Linked DNA regions of Homo sapiens: all the other regions are linked to region 3. Evidence: promoter capture Hi-C in human tissues and cell types (Jung and others, 2019). All regions are on one chromosome and are shown on one strand. Each heading gives the region's core, a stretch centred on a gene start or on the middle of the fragment in contact. The rest is flanking DNA. Distances are from core to core; before and after follow the strand shown.

What was found. Contacts are between HindIII fragments. The study calls those that stand out against the background at their distance.
Region 1: a contact is called between a fragment that was not itself captured here and the fragment with the promoter of ERC1 in region 3, in 1 of the 25 tissues and cell types used here (lymphoblastoid cells).
Region 2: a contact is called between a fragment that was not itself captured here and the fragment with the promoter of ERC1 in region 3, in 1 of the 25 tissues and cell types used here (dorsolateral prefrontal cortex).
Region 4: a fragment that was not itself captured here is called in contact with the fragment with the promoter of ERC1 in region 3 in 2 of the 25 tissues and cell types used here (dorsolateral prefrontal cortex and mesenchymal stem cells).
Region 5: a contact is called between a fragment that was not itself captured here and the fragment with the promoter of ERC1 in region 3, in 1 of the 25 tissues and cell types used here (hippocampus).
Region 6: a contact is called between a fragment that was not itself captured here and the fragment with the promoter of ERC1 in region 3, in 1 of the 25 tissues and cell types used here (heart left ventricle).

Annotation. Positions count from the first base shown.
Region 1 is chr12:1,466,380-1,469,251 of GRCh38, reverse strand. All of the region lies in intron 18 of ERC1 (ELKS/RAB6-interacting/CAST family member 1), which reads right to left. It overlaps LOC124902856 (a long non-coding RNA gene), which reads right to left. Exons shown (of 2, transcript XR_007063156.1): 2 at 2,512-2,872. Among named protein-coding and RNA genes, the nearest start is that of LINC00942, 33 kb to the left of the region's middle. The HindIII fragment of the contact is 3,956 bases long and covers 1-2,872 here.
Region 2 is chr12:1,311,643-1,314,604 of GRCh38, reverse strand. The region is part of intron 15 of ERC1 (ELKS/RAB6-interacting/CAST family member 1); the gene reads right to left. Among named protein-coding and RNA genes, the nearest start is that of LINC00942, 190 kb to the left of the region's middle. The HindIII fragment of the contact is 3,459 bases long and covers 1-2,962 here.
Region 3 is chr12:989,695-992,819 of GRCh38, reverse strand. It overlaps ERC1 (ELKS/RAB6-interacting/CAST family member 1), which reads right to left and starts at 1,597. Exons shown (of 19, transcript NM_178040.4): 1 at 1,498-1,597. It also overlaps a transcript of RAD52 not described here. RefSeq lists silencers at 783-1,077, 1,283-1,792, 1,813-1,922, 2,333-2,382 and enhancers at 1,081-1,642, 2,204-2,766. The HindIII fragment of the contact is 12,512 bases long and covers 1-3,125 here.
Region 4 is chr12:582,216-585,318 of GRCh38, reverse strand. The region is part of intron 1 of NINJ2 (ninjurin 2); the gene reads left to right. Among named protein-coding and RNA genes, the nearest start is that of NINJ2-AS1, 47 kb to the left of the region's middle. RefSeq lists a silencer at 1,382-1,676. The HindIII fragment of the contact is 8,623 bases long and covers 1-3,103 here.
Region 5 is chr12:667,098-670,232 of GRCh38, reverse strand. No RefSeq gene overlaps it. Among named protein-coding and RNA genes, the nearest start is that of NINJ2, 5.2 kb to the right of the region's middle. RefSeq lists an enhancer at 3,091-3,135. The HindIII fragment of the contact is 6,399 bases long and covers 1-3,135 here.
Region 6 is chr12:1,389,121-1,392,143 of GRCh38, reverse strand. The region is part of intron 16 of ERC1 (ELKS/RAB6-interacting/CAST family member 1); the gene reads right to left. Among named protein-coding and RNA genes, the nearest start is that of LINC00942, 110 kb to the left of the region's middle. The HindIII fragment of the contact is 7,264 bases long and covers 1-3,023 here.

The DNA of each region.
Region 1 (2,872 bases), core at 92-2,591, 480 kb before region 3:
ACACCAGACAGTGCTCAAGAGCTGGGCTCAAGGCTCCCACCAGCAGGACAGGGAGAAGAGAGCTGCGTGGAGTCACAGCCCTGCAGGAGACTCTTAATAAGATATTGTTAGTTATCTACTCTTCCTTTTTCTCCCTGCAAGAAATCCATAGTGCTTGGTTAGTGCACAACACCTAGCACAGACATGTATCTATCTGCTGTTATGCATTCCTGAAACACTCTGCTTGCACTAGAAGGCAAATGTCCCTGTGGCATCCTGCAGAGGAGTTAACATTCGTGAAGGAGAACAGTTACAGACAGAGATGCCTCTGACAGGCTAAGAGGACTTTCTTCCCAAGGTTGCACAGGGAAGTAGTGGGAAAAGGTCTGAAATGGAAGAAATGTCTAGTTCTAACTCTGCCACTTAGCTTTACCATCTTGAGCCTCTCTGTCCTCAGCTTCATTATGTGTATAAAGGGGAGATTAGATGATTTCTAAATTCTTTCCAGATTTAATAATCTGTGGCTAAATACAGCTCATCCCTGGTTTGCCTTATAAAATAACAGTAGAACAGTGATCCCTGAGAGCCTGCAGGCTCTTTCTTTCCTTTCTTTTCTCCTTTCTTTCTTCCTCCTTTCCTTTCCTCTCTCTCTCTTTTTCTGTCTTTCTTTTTTGATGGGGTCTTGCTCTGTTGCCCAGGCTGGAGTGCAGTGGCATGATCTCAGCTCACTGCAACCTCCACCTCCCGGGTTCTAGCGATTCTCCTGCCTCAGCCTTCCAAGTAGCTGGGACTACAGGTGTGCAACACAATGCTGGGCTAATTTTTGTATTTTTAGTAGAGATGGGTTTCACCATGTTGGCCAGGCTGACCTTGAACTCCTGACCTCAAGTGATCCACCCACCTTGGCCTCCCAAAGTGCTGGGATTACAGGCGTGAGTCGCTGCACCTGGCCCCTGCAGGCTATTTCTAGTTGGAGTTTTTTGCTTTCGTGAAGCCTTCCCCCTGCAGCTTTTCTGTCGTATCATACAGTGCTAAGAAAACTCATTACTCCATCTTTTCCATGAGTCTTTACCTTCTTGCTAGTTGTATTCTGACATCTATCTGTGGCTTACTTACTTTTAGAAGTAAGTATTTTTTGGTTCAAATTTAGGCTCAATCCTTGTAAAAGGTTGATGTGATTTCTCACATACTGTAGATCGGGAGTCTCCAACTCCCAGTACTGGGTCCGTGTACTGGTCCAGGCCCTGTTAGGAACTGGGCCACACAGCAGGAGGTGAAGGGCTAGCCAGGAAGCAAAGCTTCATCTATATTTACAGCCGCTCTCCATTGCGTGCATTACTGCCTGAGTTCCGTCTCTTGTCAGATCAGCTGAGGCATTAGATTCTCATATGAGCGCAAACCCTATTGTGAACCACGCACGCGAGGGATCTAGGCCGCGTGCTCCTTATGAGAATCTAATGCCTGATAATCTATCACTGTCTCCCATCACTCCCAAATGGGACAGTCTAGTTGCAGGAAAACAAGCTCTGGGCTCCCATGGATTCTACATTATGGTGAATTGTATAATTATTTCATTATATATTACAATGGAATAATAACAGAAATAAAGTGCACAATAAATGTAATGTGCTTCAATTATCCTGAAACCATCCCTTCCCTGCCACTCCCCTGTCTGTGGAAAAACTGCCTTCTGTGAAACCAGTCCCCGGTGCCGAAAACGTTGGGGACCGCTGCTCTAGATGTATCAGGTAGCCTAAAGTTGGAGAATCCTAAGAATAAAGATGCTCAATCATCAGGCCTGGGATACAATGAAGAGGTTAAGCTGGTTTTTAATCTGGCCATTGGGTCCCTCCCTTTTTTGAACCCTCCTTTTCCCAGTCTCTTCCTGTTTGTATCATCCTAGATACACTGGGCACGCTAAGGAGAAACTGACAACACACTGCCCTTCCTAGAAAACTTGCACTTAGAAAGGCAGTGCCTCAGAGAGATGCCTCATTCAAAGGAACAAACCGAACCACTGAAATTTCAGGCACGCAGGTCGGAGCCTTATCCAATATCCCATCACACTTTTCTGTTAAGTTGGCAATAAGATGTTAGTGTCCGAAGTTTGCTTTAGAGCTTACATTAGAAAAGAGTAAGATGTTTCCAGTCTGATAACATTAAAAACTACTATTTATCTTTAACAAGAACACCATGAGAAATCCCATCAATCACAACCTGATCTTTAGGGCTATTAAGCATCATTGCACTTTACAGCAAGATCTGTTATCTTTAGTGTTAAAATTAAAGACTCTCTTTCACTCGTTCAGACTATGCTAGGTAGGGGCACTTCCTTTTGTGCCTAGGTGGTCTTTTGTATAAAAAGAGGTAAACAAAGCAGGAAGATAGCATTTATACAGTGTAGAAGAATACCATAATCTTATCTCCGGAAAATTCCTGATTTCATTCAGTCGCTAAACAAGCACCTACTTCATATTTTATGGCTTTATGTCTCTTACACAACTCTTTTAGAAAGGGCCAGAGACTCAGTGCTTTTCTTACAGCATTCTTTATTGAAGTAACCAGCAGACCCTGAATGGCCCCTAAGGGAGTATTCAGTAATTACTGGACATAACAGATTCGCCAGGACCTCCTACCTTTTAACAGGCAGAGCCCCACAGTTTATTTGGAATGCAGTTTCCAGAGCTTGTTTGACAGTCAGTTATTTTGAAACCCTTAACAATTACCCAAGCAGTAGTTAGGTTCGGAAGTTGTTGCCATGAGCCTATTTTACCCATAATGTCTGTGGTGGGCTGAGCTGTGTCCCCACCAAATTCATAGGTGGAAGCCTAAATCACCAGAACCTCAGAATGATGTGACTGCATTTGGAGACAGGGCCTTTAAAGAGGCGATT
Region 2 (2,962 bases), core at 402-2,901, 320 kb before region 3:
ATTTACCAGGGTCAATCATTGTGTGCTTGTCAAAAATTCAGGTAGGAAAGTTCCTCAAAGTAGAATTGCAGGGTCAAAAGTTTTTGCGCATTTTTTAAAACCTTTGATAAATACACCTAGTTGCCCTCGTTTACTACTTCAGACTATCTTTACACTCAAATACTTGTTTCTTTATATTCTTATTGCCACTGGGTATTACATCTCTGCTACTATGTTACATTTTTAGAAAGGAACTTTTTATTTAAATTTAATCTTCTTTTGTCATAAGTGAGGCTTAATATTTTCTTATAATTTTATTAGTCATCTGCGTGTATAGTTTTGTGAATTGCTTGATTATATTCTTTGCCTACTTTTCTATTATGATCAATGTTCTCATTTCATGGATGGAGAAACAGAGGCCCAGATAGGGTAAGTATTTTTCTTAAGGCTTTATAGTAAATGAATCACCTCTATGGAGTTAAAAATTTAAGGAACCTTCTCATCTTTCTAATACAATAGGAAATACTGATGAAGTAGACAGGATGTGGGTTAGCATGTCAGCAACATAGACTCACCATACCCTCCAGCCCATTATCACTACCACACACTTTAATTTAATTTAATTTATTATTATTATGTTTTTAGACAGAGTCTCACTCTGTTGCCCAGGCTGAAGTGCAATGGTGTGATCTGGGCTCACAGCAAACTCCGCCTTCCAGGTTCAAGCAATTCTCCTGCCTCAGCCTCCCGAGTAGCTGGGATTATAGGCACCTACCACCATGCCCGGCTGATTTTTGTATTATAGTAGAGACAGGGTTTCACCATGTTGGCCAGGCTGGTCTCGAACTCCCGACCTCAGGGGATCCGCCCAGCTTGGCCTCCAAAGTGTTGGGATTACAGGCATGAGCCACCGTACCCGGGCAAAAAAAAAAATTTTAGAATATTTAATACTTCCAGAAAAATACTGAAACGTCATAGGATAAATCAAAATGTTTTCGGTCTTTACATGTATTTTTTTCAATTTTTTGTACAATTTGATTTACATATGGGAGGTGATTAGCCTCTTTTTGGTGGTTGGTTAGTGCCTCTAAAGGTCTTATTCTAGCCTTGTAAGTCTATCTAGGATAGATAGAATTAAAGCAATATATGGAGTTATAACACGTTTCTGAACAGGAAAGTTGAATCTCTGTTTAATATCCATCCACTCCATCAACATCCTTTACTAACGGAATCTGGATTTTGCACTGGATAGTCACTGCCCAACTAAAACGTGATATTCCAGCCTCCTTTGCAGCCTGTTGTGTATAGAGGGTGGGCACGCTACAAAGTTCTGGCCAGTAAGAAGAAGAAATCTAGTGGGTGGGTCTTTGATATGGTGATTGTTGTTTAACCAGTTGGCACGTCCCTTTTCCCCCTTGTCTTTCTTCATATTCTGGAATATGTAGGAAAGGCTTCTGTATGCCACCATTTTGCAAGCAGGAGGAAGAAGGCCATATACTAAGGATAGCGGAAAAGAAAGAGCCCAGAACCATTGGTATCATGGAGCCACTGTAGCAGCCCCAAATTGCCTATTAATAGAATAAACCCTTATTCTATTAATCTTTTCTTATGGTTTTATTGCAATAGGAGCATCTTTTGGATGTTCATTAAAAATGAACTAAGAGAACCCTAAGTGATACTGCTGTAACCTGCCAAAAGTAATGATGGAGAGTTAAGAAGACTGGCTGCCAGGAATAACATGATAAATGTTACAGTGAAAGTGGCTGCAGGAGAGACAGAAGGGGACTTTAAAAGTAGAACTTTTAAAAACAAGCTCAACTCATGAAAGAAATGACCAACTCATAAATATAGTGGATGACTCAAGCCTAAAAATACATGTAATTTAACAGAAACAATTATCTTGGAAGTGAGGTAAGAATCAACCAAAGTCAATATATTAAATGTCTATATGTAAAAAAAACTGCTTTGGCCGGGTGTGGTGGTTCACGCCTGTGATACCAGCACTTTGGGAGGGCAAACTGGGCAGATCACTTGAGGTCAGGAGTTTGAGACGAGCCTGACCCACATGGTGAAACCTCGTCTCTACTAAAAATACACAAATTAGTCAGGCATGGTGGCAGGCACCTATAATCCCAACTACTCGGGAAACTGAGGCATGAGAATCACTCAAACCCGGGAGGTGGTTGCAGTGAGCCGAGATCCCGCCACTGCATTCCAGCCTGGGTGACAGAGGAAAAAAAAAATTGCTTTACTTCTCTGAGAAACAAATAATACAATGTCAAGGAGTCAGAGGTGCCATCAGTGGGTTAGGAGGACACAAGCAAACAGACTGACTCTGGCAACTGATTTTCTTTGATACCTTTACTGCTTAAAGCTAGAGGTCAAGCTCAAGGTACTGAAGAGACAGCAGCATAAACTTCAAAAGAAAAAGTCAATATGGGGTATGTGATCATACCACTGATTACACAGAGATGTCAGGAACTCCACTTACTCCTGTAGCTGTTGATGAAAAAATAGAAATAGTAGCTACAAGCAGCAGAAAATGTGTTTCTAGGAGAAGAAATTATGCTGTCCAACCCCTGCACTGAGATGCAAAAGACAAAATCATGTTCTTGAGGAAAAATGGGGACATAGTTTTCAAATAATAAACTATATATTGGGTAGCATAAGAAATAATTAGTTTAATTTTACATAGTGGAAATTCAATCATATAAAGTCAATGGGAAAGTTTTTATACTGCTCAAATTTTATCAAATTTCCTATCATCCAGCTGGTGAAAAGACTTAGTTTTGGCCACGTATCTCCATAGAAAAAAAGACAAAGCATGGCTACTTCAAGTGAAATAGCCAGAAAAATAACTGATAACTCTATGAGTAAAGCAATTGCATCTTTTTGAGGAATCAATAGAATAGTGCTTGCACATTTTATGCCAACTGGATCGGTACCATTTCCAAGAATTTCTGGTCTAAAATAAGTTGGTAGT
Region 3 (3,125 bases), core at 348-2,847:
ATACATGTCCATCATGGGACCTGTTTTCTGAACAAGAAATAGCTTAAATGACACTAACTGATAAGTAGGGCCAGAGAATACTGTAATCTAACAGGGAGCAAGAATCCAGAAAAGAAGATTCTGATTTACAGTGCTAAGTTGTGAAAGAGTGATGTGAAGAACATTGAACACTGCTTACTCTAATATTTCCATACAAAGTGACACACCTGCCCCCAAAATGTTTTTAAAGCACTTGACTCCAAGAACATTTCTCAGAAATTGAGGAGCCTACCAAAAAAAAAGAGTTCCATTTCATTTTAAAGTGTTTTAATAAAGACTGCAAGAAACATAACTGCAAATGAGAAATAAAATTTCAACAATTTAGCACTGAACACAAAATGTCTAAAAGTCAAGGTGTACTGAGCAAGCAACACGCTATAAAAGACGGTTGTACTTTAAAACATTTAAGCATTTTTCATATAATTAGCTCCAACAGAACTATTCCAATTGTTCACTTTATCCACCCAAAGCAGTCAACCACAACCACCTGCAACTATTATTCAGCAATGTGCCTTCCAAAGCAACCACCTGAGTTTGGGGCCTTCTCTCAAGGGGCCAGGATAAAGCCTGTAAAAGGGTGGTATAAAGAGATCTTTTAGGCATTGGGGGGAAAAAAAACTGGAAGACACCACCTTGAAGGAGCTAAGCGTAATGCGACCCAAATGGTGGCTGCCGGAACGAAGTTGTCTAAACCGAAGATCTCCCTCTTCTTCGGTGTAAAACTTTCAGATACATCCACGCTCACAATTTACCTGAGCCAAAGTAAGGGGATTCTCTTCCCTCTCCGACCCCCCACCCACCCCGCCAGAAGAAAAAGAATCGAACCCTAAAGTAGAAACGTGAGATCTAGTGCAATAAAATAGGTTCTGCAACTGCCTCAAAGGCAACATGCACAGCTCATCGTCCTTTTGAAATACACTTCATCTTTTATCTCACCATTTCATCGAAAAGAAAAGAATCATCTTCAGCATTTTACATCACTCACCTAACCCAAAGATCCACCCTGACCGCACCCCAACCTCATGGCTCCCCAATTTCTCCGTCTCCCCACTACCTCGTCCGCGGCTTCACTAGTCCTAAGCCTCCCCCCCTCCGCTCCCCAAGTGCCCAGAGCCCCAGTCCCCACTCCCCCACCTCCCGCCCCAGGATCCCCACATCTACCGCCTCGGCTCCCGCCCGATCCCGGAGCCCGGCTGGGTGGAGCCCGCGGGTGGGCGCCGGTGGTCTGGGTGGGGCCCGCCCCTCCCCACCCCCCGGGCTGCCGAGGAGGGGGAGGGGGTCGCGAAGCCTCACCTACAGCTCCGCCCCTCCCCGGGGGCGCGTTGCCCTGCCCAGCCCAGCCCGGGCCGTGAGCAAGAAGCTGGGTAGGAAAGGCGAAAGCCTCAGCACTAGCGACAGGGGGGAAGCTCTGGGTCCCGCGCGACTTCCGCGCTGTCGCCGCCGCCGCGGCCGTCTCACCGTCCTCAGGGCTGCCGCTACTGCTGCTGCTGCCGCCCAGGCACCGCCGCCGCCGCCACTACCGCCGCCGCCGCCGCCACAGCACGGCCCAGGCGCCCGCGACGTCACCGCGCCCCGCCCCCTGCGCGAGACACCTAGCCCCGCCCCCAGCCCCGCCGCGGGGCGCAGCGCGCCTCCCCGGGCTCCCGGCTCGGCTGCCTCCCTTTCCCTCAGCCTCCCGGGAGCGTGACGCGGCGGCCCGGGGGCCTCCGGGCGCCTTCCGGGGCACGCGGGTGAGGAACTGGGAAGCGGGGGAAATCGGCGCCACGGCGGTCGATTAGCACCGAAACAGAGTGATGGGCGCGGAGCGTCCCTGCACACACACACACACTCACACACACACACACACGACCCCTGCGGCCACGGGAGGGGAGAGCCGGGGTCGGCTCCGCGAGCGCAGGGTGGCGCTTGTCTCCTCCTGCTTGCCGTAGGAAGTGGACGCTGGAAGCCCGAGGAGCCGCTTCGTGTCTTCCCAAACCTAAGCGGCGCCCCACCCCCTACTTCTCGTGGCCCGTTACGCCCGGGGCAGCCAAGCGCCGCGGGAGCAGCGCCGGGATCGACCCTGGCTGCTGGGGGGACGCTTTGTCCCAAGAAAGCTGGTTTTTTGCCCCTTAGCTTCGTGGAACGCGGCCGCGAAATTAGTGGTCTTCTGACCTGAGACTCGCGGGGCTGCGCACACGGGCATCGCCGAGGACCCCAGCAATGGACGTCGTGTCTGTGGTGATCCCGCCAGGACGCGGGGAGCGTGGGCGGAAATTAGTGTCCACGTTCCGACCCTGCGCTGTGCCAAACGCTGCTTCGGGAGCTGTTTATTTAGCCTCCGACAGCTAAGCGAATCGGCGGGCGGCTGGGGCCTGGTGCAACCCGATTTTCTCGTGCAGACTCGCAGCCGGCTTTGGTTTTGTTTTTTGTTTTTTGTTTTTTTTTTGGAGCCATGCAGAGGGTAGCTACAGCCATTAATTTAAGGATGTAGATAAGCTATCTCTAAACCAAGAAAGTAAGAATGGTGTGAATTATATTTATTCCCAGCCTTCCAGTGTTTATTAAAATAATTTTCGGTGTCCTTGAGAGGAGTTAAAAGCCATCATTTTACTCCTGCTTACCTCCGCCACCGTAATTAACCACTTTATACTGCCTCATAATCCCATTAACAAATTGCAGTCGCTCCTCAGCCTTCACATTCATTCACTCACCAGTTTCTACTGTTTCATCCTGCCCGGACTCTTAACTGTTCCCTCCCAGGATCGACATGCACTTGGATCATTGCAGTTTCTGGGCCTGCTGTCATCTCCCCCTTCAGTACTTCCCACATATGACTACCAACTGTTAGACGATGTGCTGCTGCCAGACCAGCCTTTCATTTCTTGGACATCCGGCTATTTACCCAGGAAAAGTCATCCTTTGACTATTTTTCATGACCTTTCTCATCTGACTCGTGATCTGCCCATCTTGTTACTCCCTAGCAGTGTGGTAAGGTAAGAGAAAATTCAACTAGGAGTCAATAGATATTTCTGTTCTCATTCTCCCACTGTCTACTTGTGTGGCCTCAGGCAATTCATTCTACTTGTGGTCTTACTTAACTGTAAAGT
Region 4 (3,103 bases), core at 155-2,654, 410 kb after region 3:
CATGGGCAGTTCTACCATCTGCTCACGCTAAGGGTTAAGAGCTTGCAGCAGGGAAGCCCAGAGCCCCCAGAGCCCAGTGAATGGCGGGGAGAGAACCGCTGGCGGCAGGTGAAGGTCACTGCAGAGACAGCCTCCATTTCATGGCGGTGGAAATGCAGCCTTAGCGAAAAGAAGGATTTGCTTTTATTTATGTGTTTATTGAGACGGAGTCTCGCTCTGTCTCCCAGGCTGGAGCGCAGTGGCGCGATCTCAGCCCACTTCAACCTCCGCCTCCCCGGTTCAAGTGATTCTCCTGCCTCAGCCTCCCAAGTAGGTGGGACTACAGGGGCCCGCCACCACGCCCAGCTAATTTTCTTTTATTTTTAGTAGAGACGGGGTTTCACCATATTGGCCAGGCTGGTCTCGAACTCCTGATCCACCCGCCTCCACCTCCCAAAGTGCTGGGATTACGGGTGTGAGCGCGCCCCTAGCCTGCTTTTATTTTTAATTAAATTTTTGTTTTTGTTTTTGTTTTGAGAGACGTCTCACTCCATCCCCCAGTCTGAAGTGCAGTGGCGCAATCTCGGCTCACTGCAACCTCCACCTCCCGGGTTCAAGTGATTCTCCTGCCTTAGCCTCCTGAGCAGCTGGGATTACAGGCACCCGCCACCACACCCGGCTAAATTTTGTATTTTTAGTAGATATGGGGTTTCACTATGTTGGCCAGGCTGATCTCAAACTCCTCATCTCAGATGATCCACCTGCCTCCGCCTCCCAAAGTGCTGGGATTACAGGCGGGTGCCACCATGCTCGGCTAATTTTTTAATTTTTAGTAGAGATAGGGTTTCACTATGTTGGCCAGGCTGGTCTCAAACTCCTGACCTCAGGTGATCAACCCAGCTCAGCCTCCCATAGTGCTGGGATTACAGGCGTGAGCCACCGTGTCCAGCCAAAAAAGTTTTTCATGGAGACAGGGTCTCGTTATGTTTCCCAGGCTGGCTGGAACTTCTGGGCTCAAGTGATTTGCCCACCTCAGCCTCCCTAAGTGCTGGGATTAAAGGTGTGAGCCACCGCACCTGGCCAGGAAACGATTCTCTCCCCATCCCTGTAGTTCCAAAATGCCCTTGGAGAAAATGATAAGGACCATTTACATTTGCAAAGAACTTTACAGTTTGTAAACCACTTTCATAAACATCATTCTCAAACTGTCCTGTAAGTCAGGACAAATACTTAAGTACTAATTATCTGGTTGTTGCTTTAACATTTTGGGTTTTTTTTTTACTCCAAATGTTCATTGAAGAAAAATTAGAAAATACAGATAAAGCAAAAAAAGAAAATAATATCTGATATCCTATCGCCTCAAGACGATGCTTAATATTTTAGTCTGCACCCTATCAGATTGATCTAAGTATATAAATATAGATCCTTAAAAATAGGTTAATGCTATCACTGTTCTGTAATCTTACGATCCCCATTTTTAGTAGGTGACTGAGAGAGCTCCCAAGCCATGCAGCTATGAAGGGGCAGGGCCAGGTCTCGACTCCGCTGTCCTGGTTCTAAGTGTCCGCGTCCTCAAGCCAGGCTGCCACTCACACTTCGAGGCTTTGCAGGGGTTGACCGCCTCCATTTCATGGCTGTGGAAATAGAGCCCCAGCAAAAAAGAAGGGTTTGCTTTGGTTGGGCTCAGGGTTGGAGACCCCCAAGCTGTCCTGGTATCCCACAATTCAGCATGGGCAAGGCTGGGCCAAGCTGGACCTGGCTGCTCAGGAGTCCCCACCTCTGCCAAACTGGACTTTGCCTTACAGTGAACAGTCACAGCGATGACAGGGGTCAGCTGTCAGGCGGGAGGCCCAGAGGCGGCAGGTGCCAGGTGGCAGCCTCAGGCTGTGAAGGACTGACCCCAGAGAACAACTGGATATCTGTTTGGTGGCCTTGGAGGTCTCTCGCTCGTTAGTATTTTTAGAAAGAGGGTGAAGGCACAGCAGGGACCTGACACTTGCCTGGCTGCCCTGGGGCATCGCCCTGAGCTGTGGAAAGGGCACTTCTAGCCTGAATCTGGGCCAGCGCTAAAGGCAGGACTAGCATGCCTGCCTGCCTGCGCCCATTCATTCATTCACACTAGCATGCCTGCCTGCCTGCACCCATTCATTCATTCACTCTAGCATGCCTGCCTGCCTGCACCCATTCATTCATTCACACTAGCATGCCTGCCTGCCTGCGCCCATTCATTCATTCACACTAGCATGCCTGCCTGCCTGCGCCCATTCATTCATTCACTCTAGCATGCCTGCCTGCCTGCGCCCATTCATTCATTCACTCTAGCATGCCTGCCTGCCTGCGCCCATTCATTCATTCACTCTAGCATGCCTGCCTGCCTGCGCCCATTCATTCATTCACTCTAGCATGCCTGCCTGCCTGCGTCCATTCATTCATTCACTCTAGCATGCCTGCCTGCCTGCGCCCATTCATTCATTCACACCAGCATGCCTGCCTGCCTGCGCCCATTCATTCATTCACACCAGCATGCCTGCCTGCCTGCGTCCATTCATTCATTCACTCTAGCATGCCTGCCTGCCTGCGTCCATTCATTCATTCACTCTAGCATGCCTGCCTGCGTCCATTCATTCATTCACTCTAGCATGCCTGCCTGCGTCCATTCATTCATTCACTCTAGCATGCCTGCCTGCCTGCGCCCATTCATTCATTCACTCTAGCATGCCTGCCTGCCTGCGCCCATTCATTCATTCACTCTAGCATGCCTGCCTGCCTGCGTCCATTCATTCATTCACTCTAGCATGCCTGCCTGCCTGCGTCCATTCATTCATTCACTCTAGCATGCCTGCCTGCCTGTGCCCATTCATTCATTCACACTAGCATGCCTGCCTGCCTGCGTCCATTCATTCATTCACTCTAGCATGCCTGCCTGCGTCCATTCATTCATTCACTCTAGCATGCCTGCCTGCCTGCGCCCATTCATTCATTCACTCTAGCATGCCTGCCTGCCTGCGTCCATTCATTCATTCACTCTAGCATGCCTGCCTGCCTGCGTCCATTCATTCATTCACACTAGCATGCCTGCCTGCCTGCGTCCATTCATTCATTCACTCCTGAGCACACGCTCCCA
Region 5 (3,135 bases), core at 448-2,947, 320 kb after region 3:
AATTATTTTTTTTTTTGTATTTTTTTTTTTTTAGTAGAGCGGGGTTTCATCACGTTGGCCAGGTTTGTCTTGAACTCCCAACCTCAGGTGATCCAACCGCCTTGGCCTCCCAAAGTGCTGGGATTACAGGTGTGAGCCACTGCTCCTGGCCTTTTTTTCCTTTTTTAAATATCACTTCAAGACTTGAAACCTCCACACAATTTTGTGTGACTTGGGGTTGCCCAGCCCCCCCACACACCAGCCCTTAGAGGCTTATTACCATATGCCTCCTGAGCAGAAGTCCATTGGTTCCCAAGAGGTGCCTTAAGGGGCAGCTCGAGAAATGGAACGGGGCAGTTGCGGGGGGTAGGTGGCGGGACAGATAGGGCAGAAGTGGATGTGACTCTAGCATTCAAACAGCTTCACTTTAATCTGCTTTATGTTAACTTCCACATAAGATTACGTTTAAGAAAAGGATTTCTTATCTTTAAAAAGTTTGCAAACCACTGATCTTTGTCTCTCTCCTATCACTAAGAAAAGATCATCTATTCCTCTCCCTTAAGCCACCAAGAGAGTGCCAGGCACCTTTTTTTTTTTTCTGAGACGGAGTCTTGCTCTGTCGCCAGGCTGGAGTGCAGTGGTGTGATCTCAGCTCACTGCAACCTCCCCCTCCCGGGTTCAAGCGATTCTCCTGCCTCAGCCTCCCAAGTAGCTGGGACTACAGGCGCGCGCCACCATGCCCAGCTACTTTTTTTGTATTTTTAATAGAGACGGGGTCTCACCATCTTGGCCAGGCTGGTCTTGAACTCCTGACCTCGTGATCCACCCGCCTCAGCCTCCCAAAGTGCTGGGATGACAGGTGTGAGCCACCGCGCCCAACCGGAGGCTCTGTTTTTAATCATTCATTGAACAGTGAGTCACAGTTAAAATCCCCCTCCTCTGAATGTGAAAGAGTGAAGGGAAATTTTACTCACCACCACCAAGAGCATCCCCAGGCCTCGTGGGGCATTCCCACGAGAGCTGTGTGCCCTGACTTCCTATTTGTGTGAAGTCAGGCCCCGTGAGCATCTATCAAGGCGTGAGCAGCCAAATAGAAGTGACACATACACAATGACAGGATTCTAAATGTGGAATTTTGGTTGATAGCTCCACTGGCCGAGAAGGTGGCTACTAGCTACTTAAATGTAACCACGTAAATGTGAACTTAGAGGCTGGGCGCAGTGGCTCACGCCTGTAATTCTAGCACTTTGGGAGGTCGAGGTGGGCGGATCACCTGAGGTCAGGAGTTCGAGACCAGCCTGGTCAACATGGTGAAGCCACGTCTCTACTGAAAATACACAGAAAAATTAGCTGGGCATGGTGGTACACGCCTGTAATCCTGGCTACTCAGGAGGCTGAGGCATGAGAATTGCATGAACCTGTGAGGTGGAGGTTGCAGTGAGCTGAGATCACGCCAGCACACTCCAGCCTGTGGGACAGAGTAAGACTCTGTCTCAAAAAAAAAAAAAAAAAAAAAGTGGGGGGTGATTTTAGGCCAGGCACAGTAGCTCATGCTTGTAATCCCAGCACTTGGGAAGGCTAAGGTTGTGGATTACTTAAGCCCAGGAGTTCGAGGTTGCAGTGAGCTATGATTGTGCCACTGTACTCCAGCCTGGGTGACAGAGTAAGACCCTGTCTCTAAAATAAATTTAAAAATAAATAAAATCAAAATATGTGAATTTATTGAAACTAAATCAGATTTAAAACTCAAATTCCTACTCAGCCAACCAAATTTCATGTGCTCAATTGGCTAATGTGGCTAATGGCTACTATATTGAAGAGTGAAGATGGAAATGTTCAATAACATTTACTGCACTACCAGCTCCCTCCATAGGCCCTCAGAAAGCTTCCCTTTGCCATCCCTGTTGGCCCTGGGATTCCTGGAGAAGTGAATTTGAAAGCAGCTGAGTTCATGTGTAAATGGGCATAAGCAAGTTTGTAAGAATGTTTTGAAGTCAGCTTTTATTCTCACTTCTGTATCTTGTTTGACGTGGGTATGCCCTACTCAGTCTCCATGAGCAGGGGCAACAGACAGTGGTAATTTTCCCTAAAATTTTTCTAATTACATAAATTTTCCATCAGGGAAGGTCTTATTGGTAAAATTAAACTAAAAGCATTAGATTCTTCTTGCTCTGCTTCAATTTTTTAAAAAGCCAATAATTTCTAGCCCTCAACTTTTACACACTGAAATTCAGACCTGTATCTGAGATTTTATATTGTTACACAGGAAGTATTTAATATAAACTTTTTTTTTTTTTTTTTTTTTTTGAGACAGAGTCTCACTCTGTCACCCAGGCTGGAGCGCAGTGTTGTGGTCTCGGCTCATTGCAACCTCCACCTCCTGGGTTCACGCCATTCTTTTGTGCCTCAGCCTCCCAAATAGCTGGGATTACCGGCATGCACCACCAGGCCCAGCTAATTTTTGTATTTTTAGTAGAGAGGGGTTACACCATGTTGTCCAGGCTGGTCTCAAACTCCTGACCTCAGGTGATCTGCCTACCTCGGTGCTGGATTACAGGTGTGAGCCACGACACCTGGCCAAAACACACATTAGAAACAGAATTTAAGAGCTAGAGGGATCTTAGGAATCAACTCTTTTGATAGCTTCACATTCACAAACAAGAATGTAAGCCCCAGAGAAGTTAAGTGACTTGCCTAAAAACACAGTGACTCAGCACACAGAGAGGAATCCAGGCCACCTGGCTTTCACCCTAGAGCTTTTCCCACAATTCAAAATTAAAGGATCTTCTTGCTGTTGCCTTCTTCAGTACCCTACAACAATGCTTTGCTCCTTCTACATAGCAAGATACCTAGGGTCTCATTGTAGACCCCTCATTCCATGAAACTAGACTCAGAGTAGTTTCTGAGTCACTCTGAGTGTCTACTTATCTGTAAGTTCAAGGATATTCCAAAATATGCTTTCCAAGAGACAGTCTCCCTAAAAATGTCCCTCTGGCTTTACACCACAAAAATCACCCTAGCAGTAAAGAACAATAGAAACCATTTCCACCCACAGTGATAACCTCCACGTAGGTGCAGTTTCAGCACCAGCCAAATGGCAGCAACACTCTTCACTACAGCTTCCCTTGCCATCAGTTGTCTCACCAGGGCGTGCAT
Region 6 (3,023 bases), core at 312-2,811, 400 kb before region 3:
ATCTCCATTGGTCCTTGTGTATTCTGAGTTGAGCCCAATCTCTGCCCTCTAACACAAATCCTCATCTCAGTGGTCCCCTGAATAGTCTGCCTTACTGTCTTTAAGAAGTATCAGGAATATTTTTTTTTCTCCAGCACACTAAGTATAAAAGTACAACAAGAACTATACACACAGACAAACACTAAAAAGGCAGAGAGAAGGCAGACCAGTCAGGAGTGCTGTGACCTGCAGCTCCCTGGATCTTTCTGCCTTATATATCCAGAGGTAGAGCTGAAGAAGCCAACAACCAGGAAATGCCAACAGGCACAGACCAAAAAAGCTTCAACAGGAGCCCACTCTCTCTAGCCAAAGAAGCCTCCAAAGGAAAGGGACAGCCTAGCAACATAGAAACCTGTGGGACAACAATCACTCTATTCCAAAGACCATGTGGTCCCACTGTCACTCATGTCAGTAAAGACCAAGCGGCGGGCCCCATGCTCACCAGGTTGTGAGGAGGTGCTTCAGCCTCTCCTTGCTCCACTGGAAGGTGTCAGGGAAAGCCGAGGGAGGCAGGGCTATAATCTCCAACCATCAGCAATGAAGTCTCCCCTCCACAGTGTCACTAGAGACTAGGTGAGGATTCTAGAATTCCACCTCCATGGAGCAGTAACAGCCGTGTCTCCTGGTGGAGTCGGACCTTCACTACCGCACAGCAGTAACCAGGCCCCCCTTCCTTCACCCCCACTGTGTTAGTGGAGGCCTTCCTACCCTAACCAGGCAGGGATACACCAGTGAAGCCTAGTGGGGACATGAATACCCATCTCCACCTAGGAGTAACAAGAAGCCTCCACCCCTTGAGTGTCAGCAGGGTCCAAGTGGGAGAAACTGGACTTCTACCTCCACTGGGCAATACTGAGGCAGCACCCCATTCTTCCCCTGCTGGAGTGGTGTCAAAGAAAACCAGCTAAAACAGAAGTCTAAGTAAGACCCAGAGTCATATCGCATAACATCCAACATGTCCAGGTTTCAACTGAGAATCACTCAACATCCCAAGAACCAGGAAGACCTCAAACTGAATGAATAAAAGACAATTATGATTAAAGGCACAGCAGCGAACTGAAACATTCATCTTGCCAATAGGATTAGGTAATTAGGCAGCAACTGATCAGCTACCATAGCTGGACTACTGCTGGGCACCAGAAGTCAGAAACAGCTCTTAGAAGACATGCCAACATAGCTGCTCCCTCCCTCATCAAACTTGTCAGTAAGGCTTCATTAATTTCCTCTCCATTCCTGGAGTGGGATGGTTGAATCAGAGTGCGACTGTGTGTGTCTGGAAGTGACCTCAACTTAATCAGACCTCAACTCAATCAACTAGGAAACTTCTAGGGCAGGGCAACCTATTCCAGTCCCAGTTCTTGTAGTAATTTGACCATAGTGAATCCACAACTGGGTTCATTTAATACTCCAAAATTCATGGTTTGACCACAGTTTTATTTTGGTGGTGACTAAACTAACCCCACCTCCGGGAGATGAACTGACAGTACCTTTGGGCATCCTAAGCATGCTCTGGTAAGTACTTTTGACTTTCCTTCCAGTTTTTAGGTTCAGAAAAATTCATTCTTTGTCCCATGTTTCACCTTCCCATTTAGATTAATAGTAGTAAATGTTAATTTTATTAACTCAGTAATGTATCAATTTAGTAATTTTTACTTTTATCAATTTGAAAAATTAAACTTTATTATTTTTTAAATGTATTGATTTATTAATCAATATTAATAGACAGTTGGTATTTACTGTATCCTTGATTTTTTTAAAATTTTAATTTATGTCACTGTGGGTTACACTGTCCTAGAAATATATGGAGCCATACTGGCTAGTGATCAGTTCTAAATATATCAAGAGACAGGTTTATCGCTAAACAGGCTGACTTATCCCTGTTTAGATGTTTGTTATAAGCTAATCACTAATCATAACATACCAGTGTTTACTACTATAATTAGAAGGAAATAATCTACCAAAGAAAATAAAAATTTTAATAAAATGTCTACTGGTATTTTGAAGTATAATTTACCACCCAAATATACAAAGGTCACTTCCAGACACACACAGCCCCGCTATGATTCAACCATCCCACCCCATGAGTGGAGAGGAAATTAATGAAGCCTTAACGACAAGTTTGATTAGTTCATGAAATAAGTGTGTAACTTAAAATGGAGAGATTAACCTACTCAAGGGTTTTTTTGTTGTTGTTTCTTTAAAGGCACTACATATTTTTGCTTAGAGACTGAATGCAAAACAGATTTTTTAATGTAAGGTGCTTTTAAGGAAAATAGGCAAAATACCCGGGAATTAATAGGATTTGGACAGAATTCTTTTCTTGAGGGAGTGCTTTTCAAGACTACATTTATGTTAACTCTTTGGAGTATTCATGTAGCATTATCCTCATTTCCAGGAACAGAGCTTTATTAATTTATATATCAAATCAGCAAAATGGCTATGGGGTATATAAGATCACAATCACCTGTGATATATTGTGCCATAAATGCTTAAAGCATTTTCAACACATGTAAGACATGAAAAAAAGGTCTTAAAAACCCTAGAACTGCATAAAAACTCCTAGCAATGCATATCCAGTAGAGCCAATTCTGAAATCCATTACCAACAGGCTTACAGAGGGCATATGCTCATTGAACTATAATCTGTAAGGATGAAAAGAATGGCCTGTGTTAATATTTTAGTATGTGTCAGAAAACAGTAAAAAGTAAGTATAACTTGCCTATATTCTCTCTTAAGCAAGCTATTCCATTTTCATGGGTTTAAGTAGTATTTCTGTTCTGATGACTCCAAAATTATCATTTCTAGCTCTCATCTTTACCTGGAGCATCTCCAGCCAACGGCTTTCTTGATGTATCTATTTGGGTATAAATAACCTCGAATTCAACTCTACTAAAAATAAGCATGTTATATTCTCTTCCATATATGGCCTTTCTTCTTGATTACTCATTTTAATTAGGGAGACCACTTCCACTTACTTGGCCAGA